Linked DNA regions of Homo sapiens: region 2 is linked to region 1. The links are contacts of gene promoters, found by promoter capture Hi-C in blood cells and fetal thymus (Javierre and others, 2016). All regions are on one chromosome and are shown on one strand. Each heading gives the region's core, a stretch centred on a gene start or on the middle of the fragment in contact. The rest is flanking DNA. Distances are from core to core; before and after follow the strand shown. Region 1 holds the start of AKAP17A (A-kinase anchoring protein 17A). Region 2 has its middle 24 kb from the start of ZBED1.

Region 1 (4,780 bases), core at 716-3,215:
GTGCCACGCTGATGGTCATCTTGGTGATGGGCTTCAGGTACAAGCCGTAAGCAGGGCAGAGCTCCACGGCCTCAGACGTGTCGTGCACGATGGTAGCCGCTGCCATAGCCTCCGGGACCTTGGGCCTGAAACATAAGACGCAGACAGTCAGCACCAGCACCCCCCACCTCCCCCGCCAATGAGGAGGGGCCAAGCCAGCAGGCACTTTCTGGACCCGGAGAAGAGAAACAGCAGTGTCTCTCTGCCGTGTCAGAGACCGGTTTCCACTTTGTTAACAGCCATCTCAACGGAGTTCTTTACTTTTTGAAATCATTAAGAGTACACCAAAGGGGAAAGAGCCGAGCTGATAAAGAACAGGTTAGTGTCAAAGCCTCGGTCAGCACTGCCCGACACCCTACATCCAGCAGCCAGCAGCTCCCAAGGCCTGCAGAATAGGAAGCTGAGCACGACCAGGCCCCTCACACAGGTCAAGTAGGAACGGGGACGCTACAAACGCCTAGCTCCACGGGAAGGGGCAGAGAGACACTGGGGAAGGGAAGGGGCCAGGGAGAGCACAGCTGCAGGCATCTGGAAAGGTTTTGTGGAGGGGGCGGCGGCCCTGTACTTGCCCTGATAAAACAGGAAGTCTCGGGCTGCAACAACAATCCAGAACCATGAACCCTAGTAATCTCCACGAAGGCCAAACGTATCCCAGCTTTAACCCACTCAAAGCCAAAAAGTACAACGAACTTTCCACAAGTTAGGGGCCGGAGTCCCCCGTCTGCGCCTTCTTTCTCCGCCCACCTTCATTAACCCACCTCTTCCCTGCTGAGCTGACGGGCAGCCACTTCCTGACGGCCAAGTCCAAGTAGAGGAAGCTTCACTCGCAGAAACCCAACCATCTCAGGTGACCGCCTCCGGCCCGGCCGCCCACCCCATCAACCTGGAGGCTTCCTGCCAGGCCCAGGAGACGGCCTCCTCGCCCAAGCCCGAGGTGGGAGGTGCGAAAGAAGGGAGGGAGGGTGGAGAAGCGACCAGAAAAGGTCAGTGGGGCACCAGGGAGGGGCTCCAGTCTGGACAGAGACCAGTGAACCCTCCCCCAGAACCCAAGCGGCCCCAGCAACTTCACCACCGAGGAACCCTCCCCACTCTGGCCTCCAGCGCCCTCCGACCACCCCGGTACACCTGGCTGCCCAATCCCCAGTACGCGGCATTGCCCCTGGTATTCCCACCTACCGCAGCCCCCCAGCATGGCCTCAGGCTGCCGCTGGCACCCCTGGCAGGGCCCCACACATTCTCAGGCCCTTGGCCACTCGGTACCCTCAGCTCCTCAGTTCCCCGCTCCCCACCACCCTCCTGGATGAGCCCCAATACCCCAACCTACACAGCACCGCCCCAGCCTCCGAAAACCCCGGACAGCCCCTTGCTTCCCACTGTAGACCTAGGAGCGACCGCAGCGCCACGTCCCCTAGTCCCAGGCCTCCTAGTCTCCCGCCCATCCGATCCCCCGAGCTCCCAGCCCTCCGACACCGCTCCAGGCCTCAGCTCCTTCGGTGCAGTCCCAGGAACCGCTCCAGCCCCTACCCCTACTTCCAGGGACCCCCGGACCCCGACCGCAGACCTCCCCAGCCCCCGATTCCCCCGTACAGTTTCAGGCGCTCCCAGCCCCCCGGTGGCACCCCACGCCCCCCAACCCCAGCCCCGTCACCTCCGAGGCCCCTAGGCGCCGCCTCCCAAGCCCCGGCCCCCCGGGCCCGGCCCTAGGAGCGAAGCGTTCGCCGGCTGCAGCCAGGCCCGGGAGGCACGGGGGCGGCACTCACCTGCGCGGGGCTCCGCCTGCGTCCCAGGCCGCCGCCGCCGCTGGCCCAAGCTCCCGCCGTCCCTCGACGATCCCCGGACAGGCGCGGCCTCACCGCCGGGAGCCGCCACCGTCCCCCGGAGGCGCCTCCGACGCCGCCACCGCCGTCGCCGCCCGCCCTCTATGACGCATTTCCACTTCCGGCGCGCGGGCTCGCGGAAGAGGCCGCGCGGCAGCACCGGGTTTCTCCTTCTTGCCCTGGCTCCGCCCCCGGGAGGAGGGACTTCCGGGAGCCCGACCTTTTGCACTGCGCGTGCGCGAGTCCGCCCCGCCCCCATGGTGCCACCTGCCTGCGGGTAACCAGGGGAGGTACTTGGGCCAGGGTCTGTGGTCATAGCCCTTAAGCCAAACAGGAGGGGGGCCGGTGTGGGGTCTAAATTCCAATTGTAGAGTCAAATATATATAACAAAATTCTAAAATGTAATAGGATCCTATAACGGGATTCTATACTATACTTGCAAATTATGGGTAATATACTTGAATAATATAATTTATGTATAAATTAGATATCATATTCTATGACGTAATTATAGAATTACATATAAATTGCTAGTTAATTAACTATTAATTGAATGGTTAATAATTATTAATTGTATATTAATAATTATTAACGCATACCATTACATAATGTAATTATGAAATAATAAATGATAACTTACAATGGTATTATGAAATTAATAATAATTTATATTGCAATTATGAAATAAATGATCATTTCTAATTATAAGATAATTTATAATGTAATTATGAAATAAATATAATGTAATTTAAAAATAAATGATAATCTAATGTAATTATGAAGCAAATGCTATTGTATAATATAATCATAATTTATAATGTAATTTTGGAATAATAAATGATAATCTATAGTGTAATTATGAAATAAATGAAAATATATAATGTAATTCTGAAATGATCATTTATAATGTAATTATGAAATAATAAATGACAATTTATAATGTGATTACAAAATAATAAATGAGGCCAGGTGCGGTGGCTCACGTCTGTAATGCCAGCACTTTGGAGGGCCAAGGCGGGCAGATCACAAGGTCAGGAGTTCAAGACCAGCCTGGGGCCGGGCCCGGTGGCTCATGCCTGTAATCCCAGCACTTTGGGAGGCCGAGATGTGCGGATGATGAGGTCAGGAGATCGAGACCATCCTGGCTAACACGATGAAACCCCGTCTTTACTAAAATACAAAAAATAATCAGCCGGGCGTGGTGGTGGGCACCTGTAGTCCCAGCTACCAGCTACTCGGGAGGCTGTGGCAGGAGAATGGCGTGAACCTGGGAGGTGGGGCTTGCAGTGAGACCGTGCCACTGCACTCCAGCCTGGTTGACAGAGCGAGACTCCATGTCAAAACAAAACAAAAAAAAGACCAGCCTGGCCAGCATGGTGAAACCCCGTCTCTACTAAAAAGACAAAAAACTAGCCGGGTGTGGAGGTGGTTGCCTATAGTCCCAGCTACTCAGGAGGCTGAGGCAGGCCCGAGAATCACTTGAACCCAGGAGGCAGAGGTTGCAGTGAGCGAAGATGGCGCCACTGCACTCCATCCTGGGCAACAGAGCGAGACTCTGTCTCCAATAAATAAATAAATAAGTAATGATAATTTATAATGCATTATTCATTTTTTATTATAATTTATTGTTTATTAAGTATGCCATGCTCTATGTGAGAGGTACGTGCTTCTGACGTCCCAAATATGTCACAAGTCCCCAAACTGGATATCCAGGGTCAGATAATCAGAACAGAAATCTTGCATTGCTCAACATCAGCTATCAACAAAGGAGAAAGCCAACACACCAGGGGCCTGAGGAAGACGGAACATTCTGTGAACCCAGGCAGGCTTCAGAGGGGCCGGGCTGTGTAAGAGGGTTGCTATGCCTTCCATGTTTCTGTCCTTCCAAAACTCAAGTTCAAACTCAGTTCCCACTGCAAGAGTATTAGAGGTGGTGCTTTTAGGAGGTGGTTAGGTCATGAGTGGGATTTGTGCTCTTAGAAGACAGGCCCCAGAGAGCTCTCTCACCCCTTCCACCATGTGAGGACACAGCCAGAAGGAACCACCTGTGAACCAGCAAGCGGGTCCTCACTAGACACTGAACCTCCCACTCATTGATCTTGGACTCTCAGCCTCCAGAACCGTGAGACATAAAAGTCTGTGATTTAGGCCGGGTACAGTGGCTCATGCCTGTAATCCCAGCACTTTGGGAAGCCGAGGCGGGTGGATCACCTGAGGTCAGGAGTTTGAGACAATTGTGGCCAACATGGTGAAACCCTGTCTTTACTAAAAATACAAAAATTAGCTGGGCGTGGTGGTGCGCACCTGTAATCCCAGCTATTCAGGAGGCTGAGGCAGGAGAATTGCTTGAACCCGGGAGGTGGAGGTCGCAATGAGCCAAGATTGCGCCATTGCACTCCAGCCTGGATGACAAGAGGAAGACTCCATCTCAAAAGAAGGGGAGGGGAGGGGAAGGGAGGGGAATGGAGGGGAAGGGAGGGGAAGGGAGAGGAGGGGAGGGGAAGGGAGGGGAATGGAGGGGAAGGGAGGGGAATGGAGGGGAAGGGAGGGGAAGGGAGAGGAGGGGAGGGGAAGGGAGAGGAGGGGAGGGGAAGGGAAAGGAGGGGAGGGGAGGGGAAGGGAGGGGAGGGGAAGGGAGGGGAGGGGAGGAGGGGATGGGAGGAAAGAAGGGAAGGGAAGGGGAGGGGAAGGGGGGAGGAGAGGGGAGGGGAAGGGAGCGGAGGAAAGGGGAGGGGGGAGGGGAAGGGAGGGGAGGGGAGGAGGGGATAGGAGGAAAGAAGGGAAGGGAAGGGGAGGGGAAGGGGGGAGGAGAGGGGAGGGGAAGGGAGTGGAGGAAAGGGGAGGGGGAGGGGAAGGGAGGGGAGGGGAAGGGAAGGGAGGGGAGGGGAGGCGAAGGGGGAGGAGAGGGGAGGGGAAGGGAAGGG
Region 2 (4,621 bases), core at 909-3,408, 930 kb before region 1:
GCCTTCTGGCTGCCATTTTTGGTTCTGACCCTGGGGAATTGCCACTGAGGTTGGAGACAGGAGGAGAGTAAAGTTGGAGGGATTTAGCCCTGGGTTCCATCTGACATTGGCTTTCTCCTCTAATCCAGTGTCCTAGCACCTGTCAGGTGGCGTTGTTCATTGAGTTCTCCCTCGCTGGGTTCTAGCCTCTCTCTCTTTCCTTTGCCATCATTCTCGAGTTGGGGGTGAGCGCTCCTGTTTCCCAGCCTGCAGGTTCTGCACCATCTCTGAATGCTTTCCCTAACATTCTGGCTAGACTTCAGTAAAGAGTCCCTGCACTAAATCCTCTTTCACTGTTCAGCTTGCCTGCACCACCTTCTTCCTGCTACACCCATCTGTGTGTGCACAGCCCCTGCCCTCTTGCCCTAGAAATATGTGTCTATGCACTGCACAGACCCTTTGGCTATCACTGCAAATTACCAGGAAACCAACTGTGTTCACACTCTGCTGATAAAGACATACCTGAGGAGACCCGATAATTGATCATGAAAAGAGGTTTAATGGACTCGCAGTTCCACGTGACGGGGAGGCCTCACAGTCATGGTGGAAGGCGAAAGGCACATCTTACATGGTGGAGGCAAGAGAAAATGAGAGCCAAGTGAAGGGGGTTTCCCCTTATAAAACCATCAGTTCTCTTGAGACTCATTCACTACCACAAGAGCAGTATCGGGGAAACCGCCCTCATGATTCAGTTATCTCCCACCTGGTCCCTCCCACACCACGTGGGAAATACGGGAGCTACAATTCAGATGAGATTTGGGTGGGGACAGTCAAACCATATCACCAACATTCTTCCGTGCCCTTAAATTCCAGAGGATTCCTCCAATATGTGTCTATTTTTCCCAAGTCAAGTCTAAACACACTACCTCTAAGGCAAACCTTCACCTAACTAGGCTTAACTCAACAGCTTAACTTTGTTGACATATGTATTTATGGATTTCTAGAAAAAAATTTTTAAAGGAATTTTGTTGTCGTTGTGGTAAAATAACACTATGGAAGGTAACCCAGGCATGGATATGTGATGAAATATAAGAAAAAAATAACTCTATCACCCAGGCTGGGTGCAGTGGCTCATGCCTATAACCCCAGTGCTTTGGGAGGCCAAGGTGGGAAGATTGCTTGAGCCCAGGAGTTCAAGACCAGCCTGGGCAACATAGTGAGAACCCCCAGCTCTACAAAAAATAAAAAAATTTAGCTGAGTATGGTGAGTGCTTGTCTATAGTTCCAGCCACTCAGGAGGCCGAGATGGAAAGACAAACTGACCCCAGGGGTTTGAGGCTGCAGTAAGGTGTGAGTGTGCCACTGCACTCCAGCCTGGGTGATAGAGCAAGACCCTGTCGAGAAGGAAGGAAGGGAGGGAGGGAGGGAAGAAAGAAGGAAAGAGAGGGTGAGAGAGAGAGAGGAAGGGAGGAAGAGAGTGAGGAAAAAGGAAAGGGGAGGAGAGGAGAGGAAATGGGAGGGAAGCGAAGACTAACCTACAATGTCTGGGGGAATAACAGACACACTGTGTGTAAGATGCCAATAAAAGTGCTAAATACCACATTTTTCATGGGAAAATAATTATTAGAGTAATTCCACCAATTTTAAAGTGAAGCGTTGACATGTATCGCACATCACAAAAATCACATTTAGTATTTATTGAACACTTACTGCATACAATCATTATGGTTGATATTTCACAGAATATCACTTACGTAATTTCAAAAACCTCACGTTTACAATGTTATCTCCGTGTCAGGGAGGATGACACAGGACCCAAGAGGATCAAAAATATGCAGATTCCCCAGAAACTCATGCTGGAAAGATTGCATTTTTATTATGATGATTGTATTCATTTCTTTTAAATAATGATATTTGAATGCAGTGATATTTTAAACACTGGGTGATCTGTGATGCTTCTCCTATAAACTTGTTTCACAGAAAACCAGCTTACCCAGGTATAGGCTCAGTTTTTAGAGTATTGCAGTCAGCACAGTTTCTGAAGACAGAATCAATCTGGGACACTTCTGCATTGAATAAAAGATGAACTGACATGTCGCCTCTGCTATCAGAGTCTCCTTGGGCGAAATAGTGAATCAGGGCATGTTGAACGAACATAGGTCTTTTGGGGCTCTGTAATGCTGCCTGCTGCTATAATATTTACAGATTCTCATGCATAGAGTTAGAAGAGATTGAGGAGATCGTTGGAGGGTTTTTGTTTGTTTGTTTTTTGTTTTTGTTTTTGTTTTGACACAGAGTCTTGCTTTGTCTCTAGGCTGGAGTACAACGGCACGATCTCAGCTGACTACAATCTCCACCTCCGGATTCAAGCGATTCTCCTGCCTCAGCCTCCCGAGTAGCTGGGACTACAGGTACACACCACCACACATGGCTAATTTTTGTATTTTTAGTAGAGATGGGGTTTCACCTTGTTGGCCAGGCTGGTCTCAAACTCCTGACCTCAGGTGATCCACCTGCCTCAGCCTCCCAAAGTGCTGGGATTACAGGGCATGAACCACTGTGCCCGGCCCTTTGAGGGGTTTTTAATCTGTAGTTTATTGAGAGGAACTTGAATCTTAATCTTGATTCTTTAACAGAGTGCAATTTGACATTTAATGTCGATTTAAGTTACATTTTTTGTTTCAGAATGATTTCAGATTTGCAGAAAAGTTTCAAACATACCACAAGGAGCTCTTTTATACCCCCGTCATAAACATCTTCAATTAGTACGGTGCATTTGTGGCAATTAACCAACCACTCTTGATACATTACTATTAACCAGCCCATACCCTATTCAGATTTCTTTAGTTTTTTTCTAATGTTTAGGATCCCATCCAGGGTCTGTCAGTCAAGAAAATTAGAAGACAATTGTCAATCATTTTAGGAAGTTTATTTGCCAAAGTTAAGGATGCGCACCTGTGACACAGCCTCATGGGGTCCTGATGACATGTGCCCTAGGTGGTCGGGGCACAGCTTGGTTTTATACATTTTAGGCACACATGAGCCATCAATCAATATATGTAAGAAGTCCATTGGTTCCTTCCAGAAAGGCGGGGACAACTGGAAGCAGAGAGGGAGCTTCCAGGTCACAGGTAGGTGGGAAACATATGGTTGCTTCTTTTGAGTTTCTGATTAGCCTCTCCAAAGGAGGCAATTAGAATATGCGTCTATCTCAGTAAGCAGAGGGGTGACCTTGAATAAAATGAGAGGCCGATTTGCCCTGGGCACTTCCCAGCTTGTCGGGGCCCGGGTTAGTTTCCTTTCACAGGCCCCACAGTTCCACAGGGTGTTTAGTTATTACTTCTACCTGGGTTCCCTCTTGGCTGGGACAGTTTTCCAGACGTTTCTTGATTCAGATGAATGACCTGGACAGCTTTGAAAAGCACTGGGCAAGCCTTTTGACGGAAGTCCTTTTATTGGGATTTTTCTCATGTTTTCTTTCTTTTTCTTTGAGATGGAGTCTCACTCTGTCGCCTAGGTTGGAGTGCAGTGGCGCAGTCTCGGCTGACTGCAACCTCTGCCTCCCGCGTTCACGCCATTCTCCTGCCTCAGCCTCCTGAGTAGCTGGGACTACAGGTGCCCGCCACCATGCCCACAGCTGATTTTTTTAATTTTAATTTTTTAATTATTACAGGAGTGAGCCACCGCCCCTGGCCTTTTCTGATGTTTTCTTCATGATTAGATGGGGTTTGGGGGCCGGGCGTGGGGGCTGACCCTTATAATCCCAGCACTTTGGGAGGCCGAGGCGGGCAGATCACGAAGTCAGGAGATCGAGACCAGTCTGACAAACATGGTGAAACCCCATCTGTACTAAAAATACAAAAATTAGCCAGGTATGGTGGTGCCCACCTGTAATCCCAGCTACTCGGGAGGCTGAGGCAGGACAATCGCTTGAACACAGGAGGCAGAGGTTGCAGTGAGCCGAGATCATGCCACTGCACTCCAGCCTGGGCGACAGAGTGAGACTCCATCTCAAAAAAAAAAAAAAAAAAAAAAAAAGATGCGGGTTGTGGGTTTTTTGGGGGAACGACCACAAGTTGGACAGGCCCTTCTCGTCATATCCTAACAAGGGTACACACTCTCACAACCACAAGACTTCTCACAGTGCATGTTGACCTCAGTTATCTGGTCGAGATGGTGTTTGTCAGCTTTCTTCACTAAAAAATTATCCTTCCCCCGGCCTCTTTCCCATGCTGTACATTTTAGGAGAAAATCATTATGTCCTACACACACTTAAGAAACGCGTCAGTAGATTTTTGAAAACGAAACACTTCTAAGTGATTTAATTTCCTTATTGAAACAGTGGATAATAGGTTTCTGGTGTTATTACGGTGGAGAAAATATCCAATATTGAGTATGAGAAGGCTTAACAATGAGCAAACTTCTGTGTAATAATAATAATCGCATTTTGTGGGGTTTTTTGTTTTCTTTTGTTTTGTTTTAGCTTTTGTTTTTGAGATGCAGTCTTGCTTTGTTGCCCAGGCTGGAGGGCAGTGGTATGATTTCAGCTCACTGCAACCTCCGTGTCCTGGGTTCAAGCGATTCTCCTGCCTCAGCCTACCAAGTAGCTGGGACTACAAGTGCACGCCACCATGCCCGGCTA

What was found. The method cuts DNA at HindIII sites, captures the fragments that hold promoters and counts their contacts. A CHiCAGO score of 5 or more calls a contact.
Region 2: a fragment that was not itself captured here is called in contact with the fragment with the promoter of AKAP17A in region 1 in 2 of 17 cell types (naive B cells and total B cells); the score reaches 7.2 in naive B cells.

Annotation. Positions count from the first base shown.
Region 1 is chrX:1,588,789-1,593,568 of GRCh38, reverse strand. AKAP17A (A-kinase anchoring protein 17A) reads right to left here and starts at 1,965. Exons shown (of 5, transcript NM_005088.3): 1 at 1,800-1,965; 2 at 1-125. The coding sequence starts at 106. The HindIII fragment of the contact is 17,990 bases long and covers 860-4,780 here.
Region 2 is chrX:2,522,622-2,527,242 of GRCh38, reverse strand. No RefSeq gene overlaps it. Among named protein-coding and RNA genes, the nearest start is that of ZBED1, 24 kb to the right of the region's middle. The HindIII fragment of the contact is 8,308 bases long and covers 1-4,621 here.